7 separate regions of the Homo sapiens genome follow, and regions 1, 3, 4, 5, 6 and 7 are each linked to region 2. The links are contacts of gene promoters, found by promoter capture Hi-C in blood cells and fetal thymus (Javierre and others, 2016). All regions are on one chromosome and are shown on one strand. Each heading gives the region's core, a stretch centred on a gene start or on the middle of the fragment in contact. The rest is flanking DNA. Distances are from core to core; before and after follow the strand shown. Region 1 has its middle 5.4 kb from the start of TRD-GTC2-6. Region 2 holds the start of H1-4 (H1.4 linker histone, cluster member). Region 3 has its middle 14 kb from the start of TRV-AAC1-5. Region 4 holds the start of TRI-AAT5-2 (tRNA-Ile (anticodon AAT) 5-2). Region 5 has its middle 3.6 kb from the start of H2BC14. Region 6 holds the start of H2AC15 (H2A clustered histone 15). Region 7 has its middle 4.0 kb from the start of TRQ-TTG3-3.

What was found. The method cuts DNA at HindIII sites, captures the fragments that hold promoters and counts their contacts. A CHiCAGO score of 5 or more calls a contact.
Region 1: a contact is called between a fragment that was not itself captured here and the fragment with the promoter of H1-4 in region 2, in 1 of 17 cell types (neutrophils). The highest score is 5.1, in neutrophils.
Region 3: a fragment that was not itself captured here is called in contact with the fragment with the promoter of H1-4 in region 2 in 1 of 17 cell types (neutrophils); the score reaches 5.7 in neutrophils.
Region 4: a contact is called between a fragment that was not itself captured here and the fragment with the promoter of H1-4 in region 2, in 2 of 17 cell types (naive B cells and monocytes). The highest score is 5.2, in naive B cells.
Region 5: a fragment that was not itself captured here is called in contact with the fragment with the promoter of H1-4 in region 2 in 1 of 17 cell types (fetal thymus); the score reaches 6.1 in fetal thymus.
Region 6: a contact is called between the fragment with the promoter of H2AC15 here and the fragment with the promoter of H1-4 in region 2, in 5 of 17 cell types (monocytes, erythroblasts, M0 macrophages and 2 more). The highest score is 11.4, in monocytes.
Region 7: a fragment that was not itself captured here is called in contact with the fragment with the promoter of H1-4 in region 2 in 2 of 17 cell types (total B cells and neutrophils); the score reaches 6.1 in total B cells.

What each region holds. Positions count from the first base shown.
Region 1 is chr6:27,483,597-27,486,635 of GRCh38, reverse strand. No RefSeq gene overlaps it. Among named protein-coding and RNA genes, the nearest start is that of TRD-GTC2-6, 5.4 kb to the right of the region's middle. The HindIII fragment of the contact is 4,863 bases long and covers 1-3,039 here.
Region 2 is chr6:26,154,811-26,157,613 of GRCh38, reverse strand. H1-4 (H1.4 linker histone, cluster member) reads right to left here and starts at 1,285. Exons shown (of 1, transcript NM_005321.3): 1 at 499-1,285. The coding sequence starts at 1,223. The coding sequence ends at 564. RefSeq lists enhancers at 1-52, 782-861, 1,122-1,281, 806-1,557 and a silencer at 442-491. The HindIII fragment of the contact is 19,818 bases long and covers 1-2,803 here.
Region 3 is chr6:27,766,137-27,769,215 of GRCh38, reverse strand. No RefSeq gene overlaps it. Among named protein-coding and RNA genes, the nearest start is that of TRV-AAC1-5, 14 kb to the right of the region's middle. The HindIII fragment of the contact is 3,636 bases long and covers 1-3,079 here.
Region 4 is chr6:27,175,724-27,178,423 of GRCh38, reverse strand. TRI-AAT5-2 (tRNA-Ile (anticodon AAT) 5-2) reads left to right here and starts at 1,136; the gene lies at 1,136-1,209. RefSeq lists enhancers at 1-38, 389-488, 679-878, a silencer at 1,081-1,230 and a cis regulatory region at 220-1,297. The HindIII fragment of the contact is 1,154 bases long and covers 843-1,996 here.
Region 5 is chr6:27,817,311-27,820,010 of GRCh38, reverse strand. No RefSeq gene overlaps it. Among named protein-coding and RNA genes, the nearest start is that of H2BC14, 3.6 kb to the right of the region's middle. The HindIII fragment of the contact is 318 bases long and covers 1,134-1,451 here.
Region 6 is chr6:27,836,846-27,839,798 of GRCh38, reverse strand. It overlaps H2AC15 (H2A clustered histone 15), which reads left to right and starts at 1,424. Exons shown (of 1, transcript NM_003510.3): 1 at 1,424-1,919. The coding sequence starts at 1,460. The coding sequence ends at 1,852. It overlaps H2BC15 (H2B clustered histone 15), which reads right to left and starts at 1,230. Exons shown (of 1, transcript NM_003520.4): 1 at 689-1,230. The coding sequence starts at 1,137. The coding sequence ends at 757. RefSeq lists enhancers at 979-1,188, 1,519-1,608, 1,679-1,788, 2,059-2,108, 2,179-2,268 and 3 more. The HindIII fragment of the contact is 16,643 bases long and covers 1-2,953 here.
Region 7 is chr6:27,798,535-27,801,234 of GRCh38, reverse strand. No RefSeq gene overlaps it. Among named protein-coding and RNA genes, the nearest start is that of TRQ-TTG3-3, 4.0 kb to the right of the region's middle. The HindIII fragment of the contact is 618 bases long and covers 1,097-1,714 here.

The DNA of each region.
Region 1 (3,039 bases), core at 267-2,766, 1.3 Mb before region 2:
TTTTGTAGTTAAGATTTATTAGACTAAAGAAATTCCCCTTTATTCTCATTTTGAGAGTTTTTAATCATGAATTATTGAATTTTATCAAATGCTTAGTCTATGTCTACTAAGATGAAAATTTGGTTTTTATATTTATTCTATTAATGTGGCAAATTACATTTTAAAAAGTTAAACCCCTCTCCCTCTCCCTCTCCCTCTCCCTCACCCCACGGTCTCCCTCTCATGCGGAGCCGAAGCTGGACTGTACTGCTGCCATCTCGGCTCACTGCAACCTCCCTGCCTGATTCTCCTGCCTCAGTCTGCCGAATGCCTGCAATTGCAGGCACGCGCCGCCACGCCTGACTGGTTTTGGTGGAGACGGGGTTTCGCTGTGTTGGCCGGGCCGGTCTCCAGCCCCTAACCGCGAGTGATCCGCCAACCTCGGCCTCCCAAGGTGCCGGGATTGCAGACGGAGTCTCGTTCACTCAGTGCTCAATGGTGCCCAGGCTGGAGTGCAGTGGCGTGATCTCGGCTCACTACAACCTACACCTCCCAGCCGCCTGCCTTGGCCTCCCAAAGTGCCGAGATTGCAGCCTCTGCCCGGCCGCCACCCCGTCTGGGAAGTGAGGAGTGTCTCTGCCTGGCCGCCCATCGTCTGGGATGTGAGGAGCCCCTCTGCCTGGCTGCCCAGTCTGGAAAGTGAGGAACGTCTCCGCCCGGCCGCCATCCCATCTAGGAAGTGAGGAGCGCCTCTTCCCAGCCGCCATCACATCTAGGAAGTGAGGAGCGTCTCTGCCCGGCCGCCCATCGTCTGAGATGTGGGGAGCGCCTCTGCCCCGCCGCCCCATCTGGGATGTGAGGAGCGCCTCTGCCCGGCCGAGACCCCGTCTGGGAGGTGAGGAGCGTCTCTGCCCGGCCGCCCCGTCTGAGAAGTGAGGAGACCCTCTGCCTGGCAACCACCCCGTCTGAAAAGTGAGGAGCCCCTCCGCCCGGCAGCCACCCCATCTGGGAAGTGAGGAGCGTCTCCGCCCGGCAGCCACCCCGTCCGGGAGGGAGGTGGGGGGGGGTCAGCCCCCCGCCCGTCCAGCCGCCCCATCCGGGAGGGAGGTGGGGGGTCAGCCCCCCGCCCGGCCAGCCGCCCCGTCCGGGAGGTGAGGGGCGCCTCGGCCCGGCCGCCCCTACTGGGAAGTGAGGAGCCCCTCAGCCCGGCCAGCCACCCCGTCTGGGAGGGAGATGGGGGGGTCAGCCCCCCCACCCGGCCAGCCGCCCCGTCCGGGAGGGAGGTGGGGGGGTCAGCCCTCCGCCCAGCCAGCCGCCCCGTCTGGGAGGTGAGGGGCGCCTCTGCCCGGCCGCCCCTACTGGGAAGTGAGGAGCCCCTCTGCCCGGCCAGCCGCCCCGTCCGGGAGGGAGGTGGGGGGGTCAGCCCTCCGCCCGGCCAGCCGCCCTGTCCGGGAGGGAGGTGGGGGGGTCAGCCCTCCGCCCGGCCAGCCGCCCCGTCTGGGAGGTGAGGGGCGCCTCTGCCCGGCCGCTCCTACTGGGAAGTGAGGAGCCCCTCTGCCCGGCCAGCCGCCCCGTCCGGGAGGGAGGTGGGGGGGTCGGCCCCCCGCCCGGCCAGCCGCCCCGTCCGGGAGGGAGGTGGGGGTGTCAGCCCCCGCCCGGCCAGCCGCCCCGTCCGGGAGGGAGGTGGGGGGGTCAGCCCCCCGCCCAGCCAGCCGCCCCGTCCGGGAGGGAGGTGGCGGGGGTCAGTCCCCCTGCCCGGCCAGCCGCCCCGTCCGGGAGGTGAGGGGCACCTCTGCCCGGCCGCCCCTACTGGGAAGTGAGGAGCCCCTCTGCCCGGCCAGCCGCCCCGTCCGGGAGGGAGGTGGGGGGGGTCAGCCCCCCGCCCGGCCAGCCGCCCCCTCCGGGAGGGAGGTGGGGGGGGTCAGCCCCCCTGCCCGGCCAGCCGCCCCGTCCGGGAGGTGAGGGGCGCCTCTGCCCGGCCGCCCCTACTGGGAAGTGAGTAGCCCCTCTGCCCGGCCACCACCCCGTCTGGGAGGTGTGCCCAACAGCTCATTGAGAACGGGCCAGGATGACAATGGCGGCTTTGTGGAATAGAAAGGCGGGAAAGGTGGGGAAAAGATTGAGAAATCGGATGGTTGCCGTGTCTGTGTAGAAAGAAGTAGACATGGGAGACTTTTCATTTTGTTCTGCACTAAGAAAAATTCCTCTGCCTTGGGATCTTGTTGATCTGTGACCTTACCCTCAACCCTGTGCTCTCTGAAACATGTGCTGTGTCCACTCAGGATTAAATGGATTAAGGGCGGTGCAAGATGTGCTTTGTTAAACAGATGCTTGAAGGCAGCATGCTCGTTAAGAGTCATCACCAATCCCTAATCTCAAGTAATCAGGGACACAAACACTGCGGAAGGCCGCAGGGTCCTCTGCCTAGGAAAACCAGAGACCTTTGTTCACTTGTTTATCTGCTGACCTTCCCTCCACTATTGTCCCATGACCCTGCCAAATCCCCCTCTGTGAGAAACACCCAAGAATTATCAATAAAAAAATAAATTTAAAAAAAAAAAAAGTTAAACCAAATTTCCATTTCTAGAGTAAATCTGATTTGAATATAATGTTTTGACTTTTAAAATAATATGCTTTATTTACTTTGCTAATATTTTGGTAAAAAGTTTTGAGTCTATGTTTAAAAGAAATATTGGCTTGTAATATTCTGTTCTTGTACTCTCTTTCTGGGTTTTGGTATCAGAATTATGTCTGTGTAGTTAAATTAGCTGAACAATGTTTTCTCTTTTTCAGTTCTCTGAATAGCTTTCTGAAAGACTGATATTATTTATCTCTTACTTGTATGTGGGAATTCACAAGTGAATCTACCTACGCCTGGAAGTGTATATGAGTGGCTCTTTAAATTATGGATTTAATTTTTCCAATAAGTATAGGGCAATAAAGATTTCCTATTGCTTTTGGTGTCAGTTGTGGCATATTGTTTGTCTTTTTTTCTTTCTTTCTTTCTTTTTTTTTTTTTTTTGAGACGGAGTCTCACTCTGTGGCCCAGGCTTGAGTGCA
Region 2 (2,803 bases), core at 36-2,535:
ATGTGGCAGTAGTCTCCCCAAGCACTTGAAATGTAGCCCTTCGGAAATAATGTCAGTACTATGCCACTTGTCCTAAGACGTACTCCTCTGAAGTCCCTCACTGCCTGCCATACTCGATAGGGATAACCAGTAGGCTTGTAACCAGCACAGAAACTGATACACTGTGCCGTGTTTGGAACTCGGAAAAACCCAGCTTAGAAACCCGGGAAAATCCCAACATTTTTTTTCCCATGCTATCTGGAGGCCAGGGCCTGCTAAAAGTGCAAAGCACAAGGGAGGCCCAAATGGGTTCAACTCCGACACTCGAGAACGCAAAATCGAGATGACGCCACTGCACTCCGGCTTGGGCGACGCGACGCCTTAGTCAAAAATAGCTCCGGAGACACACAAAATCCCACTCCTCTCCCCGACTTTGTTCCCGGGAGACCCGCCCCTGCTTAGCAGCGTTTTCCCGAGCCACGCCCCCTAATAGTGCAACAGCTCTTTTACTGAGAGCGGTGGGTGGCTCTGAAAAGAGCCTTTGGGTTGTGTTGGGCTTCTAAGCAGTTGGCCAAAGGAACTTTCTACTTTTTCTTGGCTGCCGCCTTCTTTGGCTTGGCTGCCTTGGGCTTGGCGGTCTTTGGTTTAGCCGCCTTGGGTTTAACTGCTTTGGCCTTCGCTGGGCTCTTGGGCGCCTTTTTTGGCTTGGCTGCTTTCGCCTTTTTCGGGCTTTTCGCTTTTTTGGCTCCAGCAGCTGCAGCCGGCTTCTTCGCCTTCTTTGGGGTCTTCTTGGCGCTCTTCTTGGGGGTGGCCGCCCCCGTCGCCTTCTTGGGCTTCTTCGCCGCTCCTGCTGGCTTCTTGGCCTTGGCCGCGCCTGCCTTTTTAGCCTTAGGCTTGGCTTCCCCAGAGGCCGCCTTCTTGTTGAGTTTGAAGGAACCCGACGCGCCGGTGCCCTTGGTCTGCACCAGGGTGCCCTTGCTCACCAGGCTCTTGAGACCCAGCTTGATGCGGCTGTTGTTCTTCTCCACGTCATAGCCAGCGGCTGCCAGCGCTTTCTTGAGAGCGGCCAAAGATACGCCGCTGCGCTCCTTGGAGGCGGCAACAGCTTTAGTAATGAGCTCGGACACCGGGGGCCCAGACGCTTTGCGCTTGGCCGCACCTGCAGACTTGCGGGCCTTCTTCTTCACGGGAGTCTTCTCGGCAGGGGCCGGAGCAGCGGGCGCGGCAGGCGCAGTCTCGGACATGTTGAAGGCAAGCGTGAGCGAGAGCAATTCGAGCCGGAAGCAGAGGCACTGGCCGGGACTCGAGCCGCGGCGCTGCGCCCGCCCGTTTATATAGGGCGGAGCTGCGCCGTGATTGGTGCGCTGTCCAGCCCGCCTCGCTGGCAGCCGCAGAGTGTCCTCTCGGATCCCGAGTTGTGTTTGTTACACCTCAAAAAAAGCCAAAAATATAAAAATTGTCTACACCGAACTGCCCGGTTTTTCTCAGATAATGATCCCCGAACCCTCAGGCTTCACGCAGATCTCAAATTATAAGGGAAGCACAAAGCCTTGTGCCAAAAACTTGCAATATTTCCCGCCGTGCTTGGCAAATTTCAACTCAGAGAAACAAAACTTTCTATTTTCTTCGTAAATTATAAACCGATCTTTAACTGTGGACTTTTCTGACCTCTCAAATATGATACTCCAAGTGGTTAGCTTCTTATATATCCAAAAAGCATGCCACTGGCATTAAGATTTTTATTACAAATCTGCACTTAAGTGAGGGAAGTAACACAGGCTCCTCGGAGAGTCCTGCCTATTGAGCCGAGGGCATTTGAGTTCATCAAACTGGTTTAGTTTAATGCCAAACAAATTATTGCCCATTTGAGATTAAGTTTTGGACCCCTGGGACATCAATCTATACAGCCATGGTTTTACATCTGTCCGCTACATCTGAGTTTTTAAACAATTCTTTGGATAATTCTTTCCCTTTCTGCTCCCAAGGGTTGGGGGCGGGGCTGTTGCTTCTCTCTTCCTCTGGACAATTGCTCCATGGATTGAGATACCTTGAATTCAGGGTATTTGGGAACGAAGGGAAGTCCAAAATGTACTCAGGGTACAGAGATGAAAAAGGATTAATTTTCAAATGTGATGTTCATAAAGTCACTGGAAGTGGAGGTGCACTTTACTTTAAAGCATTTGTCTGCAGCCTTGCTGAGTGCTTTTGGCATATGCTTCAGAACCAAATTGCAATAAAGTAGCTTAGAGCTGAAATTCAAGCATTGATGATAAGGCAAAATAAATAAGAAACGTAGATTGAAACATCTACTCCCATTATTAGTGAAACCCAGCCCCTATTATTACTGAATAGTTGAGGAATGACTAGTCCACTCACCACGTATGGTTTCAATCCCCCTGAAGATTGTATTCCAATGCTTCCCAGAGCTCAATAGAAAGAAAAATAAGTGACATGTAGTGATTAAACGACAAGTTCAAATTTCGATCTCAGAAGTAGAGCTTTGAGAGTCTATCTAAGCTATTATAAATCATTGCCCTCTGAAAACATCCTTTGAACAATGTCTGAGTGAATTTCTTTAGGTAGTTGCCCAATCAAGAAGAGTGTATGTAAGCTGGCAATGAAAGCCCAACCAAAAGAATTATTTCTGGTCCGGGCGCGGTGGCTCACGCCTGTAATCCCAGCACTTTGGGAGGCCGAGACGGGCGGATCACGAGGTCAGGAGATCAAGACCATCCTGGCTAACACGGTGAAACCCTGTATCTACTAAAAGTACAAAAAATTAGCCGGGTGCGGTGGCGGGCGCCTGCAGTCCCAGCTACTCGGG
Region 3 (3,079 bases), core at 45-2,544, 1.6 Mb before region 2:
TAAGCACTGTCCAGGACAGTTCTTCCCTATCTCAGTATATTGCATTTCCAGCACATCCTACAGTATTCTGAGAACTACAGACAAGGAGAGGGGAGGAACTGGATCACTGGCAGGGCACTTCTCATCCAAGTAATGAAAGGAGTGTGGTGCATCCAAATACCAGCTCTCTATGGCTTTGTTATTTGTGGTTGTGATATTTTGCCACCTTAAACCAATTAAACTAAAACAGGGCACCTTCAGCTCCCTCCAATGTGATGGGTATCAGATCCTCACATGGTAAGCCAGGGTTGGAGTTCTGTTAGTGTACACTGTGCCATTAGAAATGCTGGCATACTTGACCACTGGCAGGACATGGAGTCACTCTGGTTGTTCACAGATTGAGGTCCAGGATGGCAATCCAACTTTTCACCAGGTTTCCCACAGCGGGCACAGCTTGAGAAAGGCTAACAAAGGCATTATGCTTCCAGGCCTCTGCTGCCATGCTCCACAGAAAGAACAAAGTGACAGATTGGTGCCTCACTCCCCATCCCCAGAACACTGCCAGCCAAACTGTGAGTAACTCAGCCCATTGGGCACTGTGACCTCCTCCACTGTCAGTGATAATGTCCCCTGTTTTCATGTTGACAGTGGCTGCAGCCCATTTTACCCCTCAAGGCTTCAGCTTTGCTGAGCTATCTGTGAACTAGCAGAAGATGTCAGAGTCTGCATCCTGTAATCATGGTCCCCATTTGGCTATGGGGATTCCTAGGTGGTGTAGGCACCATTCCACCTGCCAGAGAGCTGGCCATTTTTACTTGTAGCTTGCTTACTACCTCTTCTCCTAATCAGGCTCAGTCTTGAATATACTACTTCCATCTGATGATGCCTCTTTGCTAGGCTAACCCCGTTCTAATATCTAGGCTGCCTGTTAACCCAGGACAAGATGGGGACTTGTGGTTGGAGTACAACCTTAGTGTACTGGGTCAGCCTTTCAGTTTCCACTAAGGTCCAATAAGCTAAAAACTGCTTTTCAAAAGGGGTGTAGGGAGTGGTTAATCCAGAACCCTAAAGGCCTTTAAACCCCAGTGGCCTCTTCTTTTTGCCAAAGGCTGCAGTCTGCATCATTTCCTAACACAGAGACTTGTCATTCAAATGGAGAGGTGTGCTCTAACTGCCCCAGGGCCATGGCCTGCCTAATGGCTTGTTGTAAAACCTAGAGTGCCTCATCCTCCCTGGGCCCTCAATGCAAAGTAGCAGCTTTCCTAGGTATCTGGTGGAGTGAAGCCAACAGAATGAACAGGTAAGGTATGTGTTGTTTCCAATACCCAAAAAGTCCACCAGTCAGGTGTTGGGCCTCCTTTTTCATAGTCGGCCAGTTAATGGTAACAGATTTTGATGGGCAGATCTGGAATCTAGTACTGAGCTCTAGCCCAGGTAGATCCTAAAAAGGTCACCAGTTTGGCTGATCCCAGGACTGTTAGGGTTAACTTCCCAGTCTGCTTGTCACGTCCCTGTGACCATCAAGTCCAAGGCCTCTTGTGTGATCGGATCATCAAGGGCCACAATAAGGATGTCACCTATGTAATGAATGCACATGACCACTTTAGGCAAAAGCACAGTGGCGAAATCCCATCCTACCCACTGGTGGCATATGGCAGGTGAGTTCAAATACTCCTGTGGCAGCACTGTAAATGTATATTGTATACTTTGCCATGTGAATACAAATTGATCTCTGCCCTTATCCCTCAAAGGGATTGAGAAGAATCCATTAGCCAGATCAATAACTGCATCATACCATTGGTTGGAAGCCTCCATGATGTGTTCAATTACTGTGGTGATATCTGGGCCACGAGTGTCAATAGGTCTACTACAGCATTTAGCTCTCAATAGTTAATTGTCAGACTCCAGGCTCCACTGGCTTTCTTAACAGGCTAAACCAGACTGTTAAAAGTGGAACCGGTTGCCCGCACACTTCTGCTTGAACTGAATATTGGATGAGGAGTGTGATGTCCTTCTTTCCCTCAGGGATATTATATTGTCTTTATTGTACCCTCTTCTAAGGTTTGGGGTGACATGGTGGTGCTTGCCTCTGGACTTACCTTACTGTGATGGCTAAAATGTTTCTTTTAGTTGGGGCATAGCCCAGTAAGCACCATGAAGTTGTGCACTGCATTAGGTCAATCCCTATAATACGCTCAGCCAATGGAAACCCAACCACCAGCCTGTCATAGCTGCTAAATGGCCACACTCATAAGTGAGAAAGCACCTCCCTACCTAGCATTTCCTTAATTCTCCACCCTACAAAATTCCAGAATCCACCTGGAATTCATGCCATTCTTCAGGGCCAGGAACTACAGTGGCTTGGGCCTCAGTGTCTAGCAGTTCCATGTAAATTAAAATCTGCCTCCATGTCCACTCTAACAGGTACATAATGCCTCCAGTCTCAGGGCAGGGTCAGAGGGCCAGGCTGAGGCCAGTGGAGACCTTGGTTCCACACCTGTTTCAGTTTAAAAAGGTGTGGGTACAGAGAACTTGTGTTAGGGCCAGGGAAGATGACTCTCCCAGAGAGGCTAAAGGGGGTGCCAATGTTTCCACTTGTCTATAGACTTCCCTTTCCCAGTACTCCTCCTGCATGGTTGGCACCTGTTGATTCTGTGAACTGCAAGGGCCTCCCTCTGATTGGTTCTGATAGCATGTATCAGATGGGGGGAGGCCATCAATCTCTTATTTAGGAACCCCCTGCTGCGTCAGTCAGATCCACAGTCTGTGGAGTGGGGGCACTTGGAGGCTGCCCCACTACCAGCCCTTGGATTGCCCCCTCCCAAGTTAGCCTTTTGTATTTAATTGTCAGATTAAATTTGTCAAATTTGACCCCCATTCTGCTGCCAGGCTAGCAGAGTACGATACAGCTTTTCGATGGCCTTGCCAAAGGCTATTCCAAGGGGAAGAAATAAAATCAATTGATTATGCCAGGGCCAAGGGCCCTGCTCTATGAAGTCATCAATATTGCATCTAAACAGTATTGTATCATCCAATTCCCCCTTCTGGAGGTTGGATAGCCATGAGCCCGGGGCCACCCTGCACAAGGCTGTGCCAGCCT
Region 4 (2,700 bases), core at 170-2,669, 1.0 Mb before region 2:
CTTAGAAAATTCCTCAGCAAGGCATCTTTACTTCTGCAGAAGGGTGCTCCTTGCCTGTTACAATTGCAAGAGCACACCAAACAAAGGAGGTAAGGAGTTTTTAATCCTAACGCAGTTCCTGTTTCTGTGTCCTTCCCCTATTGGCTGGGGTTGGACCGCACAATCTAAGCTGATCCCGATTGGCTAAGACTTAAACTTTGGCAAATAGGGTAAACCCTGGATTTGCGAAAAAAAGGAGTGTATGTGTGTGGTGGGGGGCGGGGGGCAGGCAGGATTGACGTACAACTTTTGCAACTTATGACAAGAAAGTTGAGTCTTTGAAGAGGGACTTAGTTGTCCCAACACTCTGAGTTGCCTGACCCGGTCCTGGGCTCAGTTCCTCCCAGATACCGGCGTTTATCATTGGTGTAGATAATGGTGACTTCCCTTGTCTTAGATGTGGGTGTCTTGGTCTTCCCGGGACGGAAGGAGTCAGAGACTCTTGAAAGGAGCCGTCCCGCTGGTCCTTTCATTTACGCCGATGCCAGCCCGGCACTCGAGCATCACCAAGGGCCCGGTGCCCGGCACTGCAGGGCCAAGTCTGATTTTATCGTTTGTGGAGCTGCAAGCTTAGGACGCACAGCTGTGAATTTCGGGTCCTGGTGACTGCGGAACCACCGCGAGGCCAGGAGGCGAGACAGTGCACTTTCCCAGGTTCCCAGGCCTAAGAGCCCACCTGGCTGGAATGGTCTCAAGGAGCAGAGAGGAATCCGCACCCTCCGAGTCCTCCGAACCCTCCGATCCTGCGAACCTGCGGCGGCTCTGCGGTTGGTTCCGTGAGGAACTGGCCGCGATCGCAAGCTTGGAGCTGCTTTTTGGTTTGTTCTGAGTCCTTCACCTGGTGAGGGGAAGGAAGCCCTGCTTGGGGTCGTTGAATCTGAGTTTTCTCCAGTCAGAATCAGTGGTTTGAGATTGTTTTCCCTGAAACAGCATGGTTTTCCTGTGCCTACAGTGAGGAATTCTCCTTTTCTTAAAAAAAAATATATTTTATTAATAAAAGGGAAAGTAACGCTTCTATTACAAAAAAAAAAAAATTCAGCGGGCATGGATCAGGTATGATTTAAATAAACATAAGAAAAGACCCTCCCACCAAGGAGGCCGGTTAGCTCAGTTGGTTAGAGCGTGGTGCTAATAACGCCAAGGTCGCGGGTTCGATCCCCGTACGGGCCACTTCCGTGGGTTTGTTTTTTTTTTTTTTCTTCTTTTTCGTTTTTATTTTACACCGACCACACCTCGCTTGTAAACTTCGGTTTTACATCGAACTCCGTAGCCTCGCCTATCCATTTATAAATGTAGTTGCACTAGCTAGACAGGAATTTTTTTCTTTTTTCTTTTTTTTTTTTCTTAAATCGACCACACCTGGATTGTATACTACCGTCTTACATCCAACTCCGGAGCGCTGCCTATCCATTTGTAAATGTGGTCGCAATAGCTAGACAAGCATTAGATTTGCACGTTTTTTATTCTTTTGAAGAAATAATATACGAGTTAGGATGAAAAGGTTTTTCTTATTTGTTTGTTTTGTTTGTTTTTGAGACAGAGTCTTGCTCTGACGCCCAGGCTGGAGTGCAGCGGCGCGATCTTGGCTCGCTGCAACCTCCGCCTCCCAGGTTTAAGCAATTCTTCTGCCTCAGCCTCCCAAGTAGCTGGGATTACAGGCGTGTGCCACGATGCCTGGGTAATTTTTGTATTTTCAGTAGAGACGGAGTTTCACCATGTTGGCCAGGCTAGTCTTGAACTCCTGACCTCAGGTGATCCGCCTGCCTTGGCCTCCCAAAGTGCTGAGATTACAGGCATGAGCCATCGCGCCCGGCCAGGATGAAGATTTTTTAAAGGAAATTCAATGAGGTGGGTGGGTGATTTTAGAAAAGGGTTAAATAAGAATTCGATAATGTCTTGTATTATTTTGGGAAAAAAAAACTTTCTGAGATAATACTATTTTGACATATTTTAAGCTTTTGAAAGAGATCATATTGATTCTTCTCCTAGTTGATCACTCAGTTGGTTAAATTGTTGTGTTTGTAGCTTTGAGGGCGAGGGTTCAGTCTACGTGGGAAAAAGCCAGACTTGTGACGTTGCTTTCTGCCAAGCTCCAGACACTCAGCCACAACTGCTCAGTGTTAAAATAGATCCGTGGTTAGCCTTAGGCTTATATTTGACAGCTGTTCTCGATGTGGCCCATACCAAGCCATTTACGATGCGGCCCTTACCAAGCCATTTACAGTTCATTAAACAATTTTTGAACATATATCGTAAAAGCGATAGGTTTGAAATGTGACAAAAATGGAGTGCGTGGTGGGAGACAGGAGGGCCAGAGCCTCTGGGTCCACTCTAAGTCTTAGCACCTCGCTCTTTCTGTCCTGCGCTTTCTTTTTTTTTTTCTTTTTTTCTTTTTCTTTTTTTTTTTTTTTTTTGAGACGGAGTCTCGCTCTGTCGCCCAGGCTGGAGTGCAGTGGCGCAATCTCGGCTCACTGCAAGCTCCGCCTCCCGGGTTCACGCCATTCTCCTGCCTCAGCCTCCCAAGTAGCTGGGACTACAGGCGCCCGCCACTACGCCCGGCTAATTTTTTGTATTTTTAGTAGAGACGGGGTTTCACCGTTTTAGCCGGGATGGTCTCGATCTCCTGACCTCGTGATCCGCCCGCCTCGGCCTCCCAAAGTG
Region 5 (2,700 bases), core at 43-2,542, 1.7 Mb before region 2:
AAGGAAAAGGATTTTGAGTTTTTAGGAGTGACAAATTGTGGGAAGGCAAATATATACGAAATTAATGGTAGATAAAGGCTGGTTAGTAAAGTTGTTATGCAGATTGCTCTGGTGCCCTCTCCAGGCTGATGAGAGTCTGATGTTGTCTCTGGTGATTAATTTTTGCCCTTTCTGGTAGAGAGGGGAGGAGAGACACCTCCGTACATTTATGTCCTGCTTTTAGGCAAATAGGGAGAGGGCAGAGAGTTTTCTTGTATCTGCTTCTTCTTAGTTGCCCTCAACTCAAATATTCTTTATGTCAATGTGGCATATTTTGGGGTGGTGTGTCTTGCCACCCTTCACTCAAAAACAGCTAATCTCTACCCAAAAAGAGAATCCTGGCTGGGCGCGGTGGCTCACGCCTGTAATCCCAGTACTTTGGGAGGCCGAGGCGGGTGGATCACGAGGTCAGGAGATTGAGACCATCCTGACTAACACGGTGAAACCCCATCTCTACTAAAAACACAAAAAATTAGCCGGGCATGGTGGCGGGCCCCTGTAGTCCCAGCTACTCGGGAGGCTGAGGAAGGAGAATGGCGTGAACTCGGGAGGTGGAGCTTGCAATGAGCCGAAATCATGCCACTGCACTCCAGTCTGGTTGACAGAGCAAGATTCCATCTCAAAAAAAAAAAAAAAAAAAAAAGAGACAGAGAATCCTTCCCCTAAAAGGAGACCCTAAGTATCGGCCCTTACCCCTTGCCTAGTGTGCCTGCCTTTATTCAAAATGTGAGACTCAAAACTTATTCGAATGTTACTCTTTTATTGTCTCACAATAAATCCAAGCCCATAACCATTTCTTGTAGGAATTAGTCTTTTTGAGACACTTCACAGTACTCACAAGCCTAAAGACAGAAAACTAGATTTTTTTTTCTTTTCAAAGAATTTAACCCTTGCTTAATAATAATCAGCTGTGACATTTGGATTTAAGTGTGAAGTTACTAACAAACATAGCACTCCTAGGTAGAATCCACCCAACCATGACCATGAACCTCCAAGTCATAGCTTGAATGTACCCATTGCATTGAACGGCCTCTACTTTTTTCCCAAAAGCCCAAATGCCTCTGTGCTATTTCTGTCTCATTTAAATTTAAGCTTCTTGGCCAGGTGCAGTGGCTCACGCCTGTAATCCTAGCAGTTTGGGAAGTCGAGGCAGGCAGATCACTTGAGGTCAGGAGTTTGAAACCAGGCTGGTCAACATGGTGAAACCCTGTCTCTACTAAAAATACAAAAAAAATTAGCTGGGTATGGTGGCAGGCACCTGTAATCTCAGCTACTCGGGAAGCTGAGGCAAGAGAATTGCTTGAACCCAGGAGGCGGAGGTTGCAGTGAGCCAAGATCATACCACTGCACTCCAGCCTGGGCAACACAGCAAGACTTTGTCTCAAAAATTAATTAATTAATTAATTAAAGCTTTTTTTTTGTTTTTATATCCATTTTTTTTATTTCCTTCATAAAGATGTACATTATATTACATTGACACATTATATTCACCTTATTTTGTAGGGTCACCATTGACCTAGGCACTATAGGGGGAAAAAAAATGAAACCCAGTCTGCACTCCACATGACTTGTAAAAACAAGATATAGTCATCAACACCTCCAATATTGGCTTACACAATAGGCTATAACAGTGGGTTAGAGTTCTCCAAGTGCATGGGGAAAGTAAAATCAATTAGTGTATGGGTAAAACAACTCAATAAAGAACTTTTAAATATTGTTTTGCTAAGTATTCTGTGACCAAAATGTGAATTTTATCTCTTCTAAAATGACTGTACATACATATAAAGATTGTGTCGACCCCAAAATTCTGTTTTGTTCTATTAAAAATTAAAAATAGGGGCAGGGCACAGTGGCTCACACCTGTAATTCCAACATTTTGGAAGGCCAAGGCAGGAGGATCACTTGAGCACAGAAGTTTGAGAACAGCCTAGGCAACATGGTGAAACACTGTCTCCACCAAAAAAGATACAAAGATTAGCCCAGGGTGGTGGCCTGTGCCTGTAGTCCCAGCAACCCAGGAGGCTGAGGTGGGAGGATTGTTTGAGCTTGGGGAAGCCAAGGTGCAGTGAGCCATGATTGTGCCACTGCACTCCAGCCTGGGCAACAGAGTGAGACCTTGTCTCAAAAATAATAATCATAAACAATTTTGCCAAGATTTCTGGATAGTATTTTCCTAATTTTTTTTTTTCTTTTAGATGTAGTCTTGCTCTGTCACCAGGCTGGAGTGCGGTGGTGTGATCTCAGCGCACTGCAACCTCTGCCTCCTGGATTCAAGCAATTCTCCTGCCTCAGCCTCCCAAGAAGCTGGGATTACAGGCGCATACCACCACACCCTGGTAATCTTTGTATTTTTGTAGAGATGAGGTTTCACCATGTTAGCCAGGATAGTCTCAAACTTCTCACCTCAAGTAATCTGCCTGCCTTGGCCTCCCAAATTTCTGGGATTACAGGCATGAGCCACCGCACTCAGCCTAATTTTTTAAAAAAATCTTTTGAGCTTTAATTTGTTTCTAACATGATACTCCTGTATCAAGAATAGATGCTTCATCTAATGAGATTGTATTGTTCGGGCTCAGAAACCGATTCCCCAAAATATGGAGCTTTGACATACTGAACTGAAGAAGAGTACTCAAGGTCTTTCGGACCTTCCCCCTATTCCTC
Region 6 (2,953 bases), core at 175-2,674, 1.7 Mb before region 2:
GGGGACAAGGGAGGAGAAACAGCACCACTCTCAAAACAAACAAGTCGATTTGTACGTTTGTGTGTGTGCCAACTGCTTCATTACTAAAGTACACATGAAGTTTAGGGACAGAGCGCCGGAAGCACTGTGGATATTTTACCAGTGACACTTAAGTATTATATTTTCTTTGGGGTCAACAGGAACTGAATTTTCCCTTTACTAGGTTTGTCTGATGATAAACCTCATCCTTCTTCAGATATAAAATTGTCTCAAGCGTTGCTGCAACATGCAGTACACTGCAGTGCTAATTAATTTCTTTTCTTTTTCTTTCTTTTTTGAGACAGAGTTTCGCTCTTACTGCCCAGGCTGGGGTGCAATGGCCCGATCTCGGCTCACTGCAACCTCCATCTGCCGGGTTCAAGCGATTCTCCTGCCTCAGCTTCCCGGGTAGCTGGGATTACAGGCGTCCGCCACCACGCCCAGCTATTTTTTTGTACTTTTAGTAGAGACGGGTTTCACCATGTTGGCTAGGCTCGTCTCGAACTTCTAACCTCAGGTGAGCCACCCGCTTCGGTTTCCCGAACCGGGATTAGAGGCTTGAGCCAAAATTAGTTTCTAACAAGGCTAAAGGAATCTTGGAAATCGTCTTTGTAGCAAGTAAGAAATACCTGCTGTAAGAACAGTGAGTGCCAGTTCTCTTTGGGAAGACTGAGTGGCTCTGAAAAGAGCCTTTGGGGTGTGGGCCGAGACTGACCGAACGTTCCGCGGTGGGCGGGCTCACTTGGAACTGGTGTACTTGGTGACGGCCTTGGTGCCCTCCGACACCGCGTGCTTGGCCAGCTCCCCTGGCAGCAGCAGGCGCACGGCCGTCTGGATCTCCCTGGAGGTGATGGTCGAGCGCTTGTTGTAATGCGCCAGGCGGGAAGCCTCGCCGGCGATGCGCTCGAAGATGTCATTGACGAAGGAGTTCATGATGCCCATGGCCTTGGACGAGATACCGGTGTCGGGGTGGACCTGCTTCAGCACCTTGTACACGTACACGGAGTAGCTCTCCTTGCGGCTGCGCTTGCGCTTCTTGCCGTCCTTCTTCTGGGCCTTTGTCACTGCCTTCTTGGAGCCTTTCTTCGGGGCAGGAGCGGACTTTGAGGGCTCGGGCATGACTGGGAGTAACTGCCGGAAAATTGGAGGAAAAAAACAGGAAGACGGTAGCTCTGTCAACCTACCGCTTATTCACTGCTTCTTAACGCAAGTGGGGTAGAGAATGAAGTTGTGCGTTTAACCAGTGGTGAGTCCTGGAAACGTATATTAACTTTGTCCAATCAAAATAAGTGTTTTTCAAAACCGCAATCCCATTGGTTAAAGCGAAACTGTAATGTTAGCCAATAGCACAGCTTAGTTTTCGTGCCTCTGTTGACTATAAGTAGCGGAGCTTTAGCGTTACGTCAGTCTCAGGAACGTTACTGATTGAATTTTTTACGTCATGTCGGGACGTGGCAAGCAGGGCGGCAAAGCTCGCGCCAAGGCTAAGACCCGTTCTTCAAGGGCGGGTCTTCAGTTCCCAGTGGGCCGAGTGCACCGACTGCTCCGCAAGGGCAACTACGCTGAGCGGGTCGGTGCCGGAGCGCCGGTGTACCTGGCGGCGGTGTTGGAGTACCTAACCGCCGAGATCCTGGAACTGGCTGGCAACGCGGCCCGCGACAACAAGAAGACCCGCATCATCCCGCGCCACTTGCAGCTGGCCATCCGCAACGACGAGGAGCTCAACAAGCTGCTTGGTAAAGTGACCATCGCCCAGGGTGGTGTCCTGCCCAATATCCAGGCCGTGCTGCTGCCTAAGAAAACTGAGAGCCACCACAAGGCCAAGGGCAAGTAGCGGGGCTGGAGCAGTTCATTACTCATACCTCGGTCCAAACCAAAAAGGTTCTTTTCAGAGCCACCTACTTTTTCACCAAGTAGAGCTGTGTTCAGTTTTATCTGATAGTCGAGTCATTTTGCAATGGCACTGGAATGCTGTATGGAGATGAAGCAAAACTAAACGGCTTTTACACCACATTGTTTTGAGATAGAAAGTAGACATTGAAATGTTTACGGTACATCAAGAAATTTAGGCGCGGCAGCTCGCGCCTGCAATACAGCTGAAACAATAAGAAAAGTGAGGCAAGAGAATAACAAAGGGAGCTGAAAGTTAGAGGGCAGAATAAGTAAAAGCAAAGGGCAGAAGTAAGGTAGATGGGCGGGTGAACAAGAAGCGAGATAACAAGCAGTGAACCTTTTGCAGCCGAAACAAAAGAGATAATGTGAGCAAGGACCTCGTGGCCGGCAAGATCTGGAACAAACCAGTTTAAGAGGCAGCTCTTCAGAGATGGGCATGCGTATTAGAGAGGAAAAGTATCCTTAACAAAAGCCCGTATGATAATCAGCTACTTAAGGTTCATGCATATGGGCTACATATCATGCATATATTTAAGATTATAAGATAGAGGCACAAGCCACAGAGGACAAAGTAAGCAACAAACCTATCAATAAAAGGGCAGATGCTGGCTATAGATTAGGCAGCACTGGGAACAGAAAACATACACACACGCACGCACACACATAAAATGACTCAAACTACAGCAAGCTGACGCTGATCTCACCTCGCAGAGGTCAGTCCGCTCTCTCCCACCCCCGAGAGTGTAATACTCTGTTTACTAAACTTTTGCTGCTTTGCTTTGCTATCTGTGTGTGTGTCGTCCAATTTCTACCGGGCACCAAGAGCCTGGAACTGTTTGGCACCATCCGGTAAACAGAACCGCTTTGGGAAGCCGAGGCGGAAGGACCGCTAGAGCCTTGGAGTTCGAAGCCAGCCTGATCTTTACAAAAGTAAAATAACTAACCGTGCCTGGCGTCTCATAGCCTGTAGTCCTAGCTACTCGGGAGGCTGAGACCAGAAGGATCACTTGAGCCCAGGAGTTCGAGGCTGCAATGAGCTATG
Region 7 (2,700 bases), core at 156-2,655, 1.6 Mb before region 2:
CAACCACTTTCCCATGTACATATTGTAACCACCCAAGGGGTTAACCTTGCCCGCTGCCTAGACAGAGCTGATTCATCAAGACAGGGGAATTGCAATAGAGAAAGAGTAATTCACACAGAGCTGGCTGTGCAGGAGACTGGAGTTTTATTACTCAAATCAGTTTCCCTGGGCATTTGGGGAGCAGAGTTTTTAAGGATAACTTGGTGGATGGGGGGAAGCCAGTGAGCCAGGAGTGCTGAATGGTCAGAGATTAAATCATAGGGAGTTGAAGCTCTCTTCTTGTGCTGAGTCAGTTCCTGGGTGGGGGCTACAGGATCAGATGAGCCAGTTAATAGATCTGGGTGGTGCTATCTGACCCATCTTGAGTGCAGCGTCTGCAAAATATCTCAAGCACTGATCTTAGGAGCAGTTAGGGAGGGTTAGAATCTTGTAGCCTCCAGCTGCCATAATTTTTAATCTTGTGGCTAATGTTAGTCCTACAAAGGCAATCCAGTCCCAAGGCAAGAAGGAGGTCTGCTTTGGGAAAGGGCTGTTACCATCTTTGTTTAAACTATAAACTACAAACTAAGTTTCTCCCTAAATTAGTTCAGCCTACACCCAGGAATGAACAAGGATGGCTTGGAGGTTAGAAGCAAGACGGAGTTGGTTAAATTCCATCTCTTTCTCTGTCTCAGTCATAATTTTGCAAAGGTGGCTTCAATATCTGTCATTAAATTGCTGGAATGTTACTTTATTTTGCATTTGACTATTTTTTTTTTAAATTTTTATTTGAGATGAAGTCTCGTTCTGTCGCCCAGGCTGGAGTGCAGTGGCACGATCTCTGCTCACCACAACCTCCACCTCCCAGGTTCAAGCGATTCTCCTGCCTCAGCCTCCCGAGTAGCTGGGATTACAGGCGCGTGCCACTGCACCTGGCTAATTTTTTGTGTTTTTAGTAGAGATGGAGTTTCACCATGTTGGCCAGGCTGGTCTTGAACTCCTGACCTCAGTTAATCTGCCCGCCTCGGCCTCCCAAAGTGCTAGGATTACAGGCGTGAGCCACTGTGCCTGGCCCGATTATTTAATATCTGAGAAACATAAGAGGCTAAGAAAAGCTTTGAAAGAATGTCATCTATTTTATTTATGCTTATATTATGGCCAGGTTATATTTCTTTTTCTTTTTTTTTTTTTTTTGAGATGGAGTCTCACTCTGTTGCCCTGGAGTGCAATGGTGTGATCTCAGCTCACTGCAACCTCCACCTCCCGGGTTCAAGGGATTCTCCTACTTCAGCCTCCCAAGTAGCTGGGATTACAGGCACGTACCACCACGCCCGCCTAATTTTTTAAAAGTTTTTAGTAGAGACAGGGTTTCTCCATGTTGGCCAGGCTGGTCCCGAACTCCTGACCTCAGGTGATCCACCTGCCTCGGCCTCCCACATTGATGGGGTTACAGGCATGAGTCACCGTGCCTGGCCAACCAGGTTATATTTCTATAGCCTCTCCAAATTCTGGGAACGAACCCCACTTGAGGCCTACAACACTAAATTCCCACATCCCCAAAAGATGTACTCAAATATTGGAGCAGTTAGCACAGTCCAGACTATCAAATGTGTTGACCTGAAATCTATTTTCTGTATGGACAAGAAGACTACAGACTGAGAATTTTAATAGAAGATATTGCCATTCATAAGAATTGTGCTGCAGGAAGGAAAAGAGACGAGAAAACCTACAAGCTTAACCAAGAAAATGGATCTAACCTTCCATTCAGTGGCCCCCAGATCTTCCTGTTCCTTTCCATGCAATGAACAAACATAGGAGCTAGAACCTGGTTCCTTGGTGTAAAACAAACAAACAAACAAAAAAACAACAAAAAAAAAACAGCCAAAACTGAGGATCTAAGGTCATCTTGACCTTTGTGAGATCACCACAAAGAAACAAATGCCATTTTGTCCACTGTGTGATCACAAACAAGTCAGTGACACTCATTATACCAGTTTCCTTAACAGCAAAATAGGGGTGAAAATCAGCCTCATTTTATCAGGAAGTTGTATGATTGAATAAGACAATGAATAAGATATATGTAGGACAGGCATGGTGGCTCATGCCCGTAATCCCAGTACTTTGGGAGGCCGAGGTGGGCAGATCACTTGAGGTCAGGAGTTCAGGACCAGCCTGGCCAACATGGTGAAACCTCGTCTCTACTAAAATTACAAAAATTAGCTGGGCATGGTGGCACATGCCTGTAATCCCAGCTACTCAGAAGGCTAAGGCAGGAGAATCACTTGAACCCGGGAGGCAGAGGTTGCAGTGAGCCAAGACTGCGCCACTGAACTCCAGCCTGGGAAACAGAGCGAGGCTCTGTCTCAAACAAACAAACAAACAAACAAAAAAGACATATGTAACAGGGAAATAATTATCACCATGCATTAAGAGGAAAAGAATAATATAGAAATTACTGCAAATTATATTTATAAGTGAGGAAAATCACTCAGAGCCAGTAATTTTACCTCTATATGACCCCATCAGCCAGCTTAAAGGAAATTAACTTACTTAACCAAAAAAACATTTATTGAGCACTTAATATATGAGAGACAATATATTAGCATTGAGAATACACGCTGAAAATAGCCTGCTAAAATTCCTGTTCTTATGGTACTTTGAGGTGGGATTAAATTCCATAACATGTCATCACCTTGATAAGTGGTTTAGATAAAAATACAG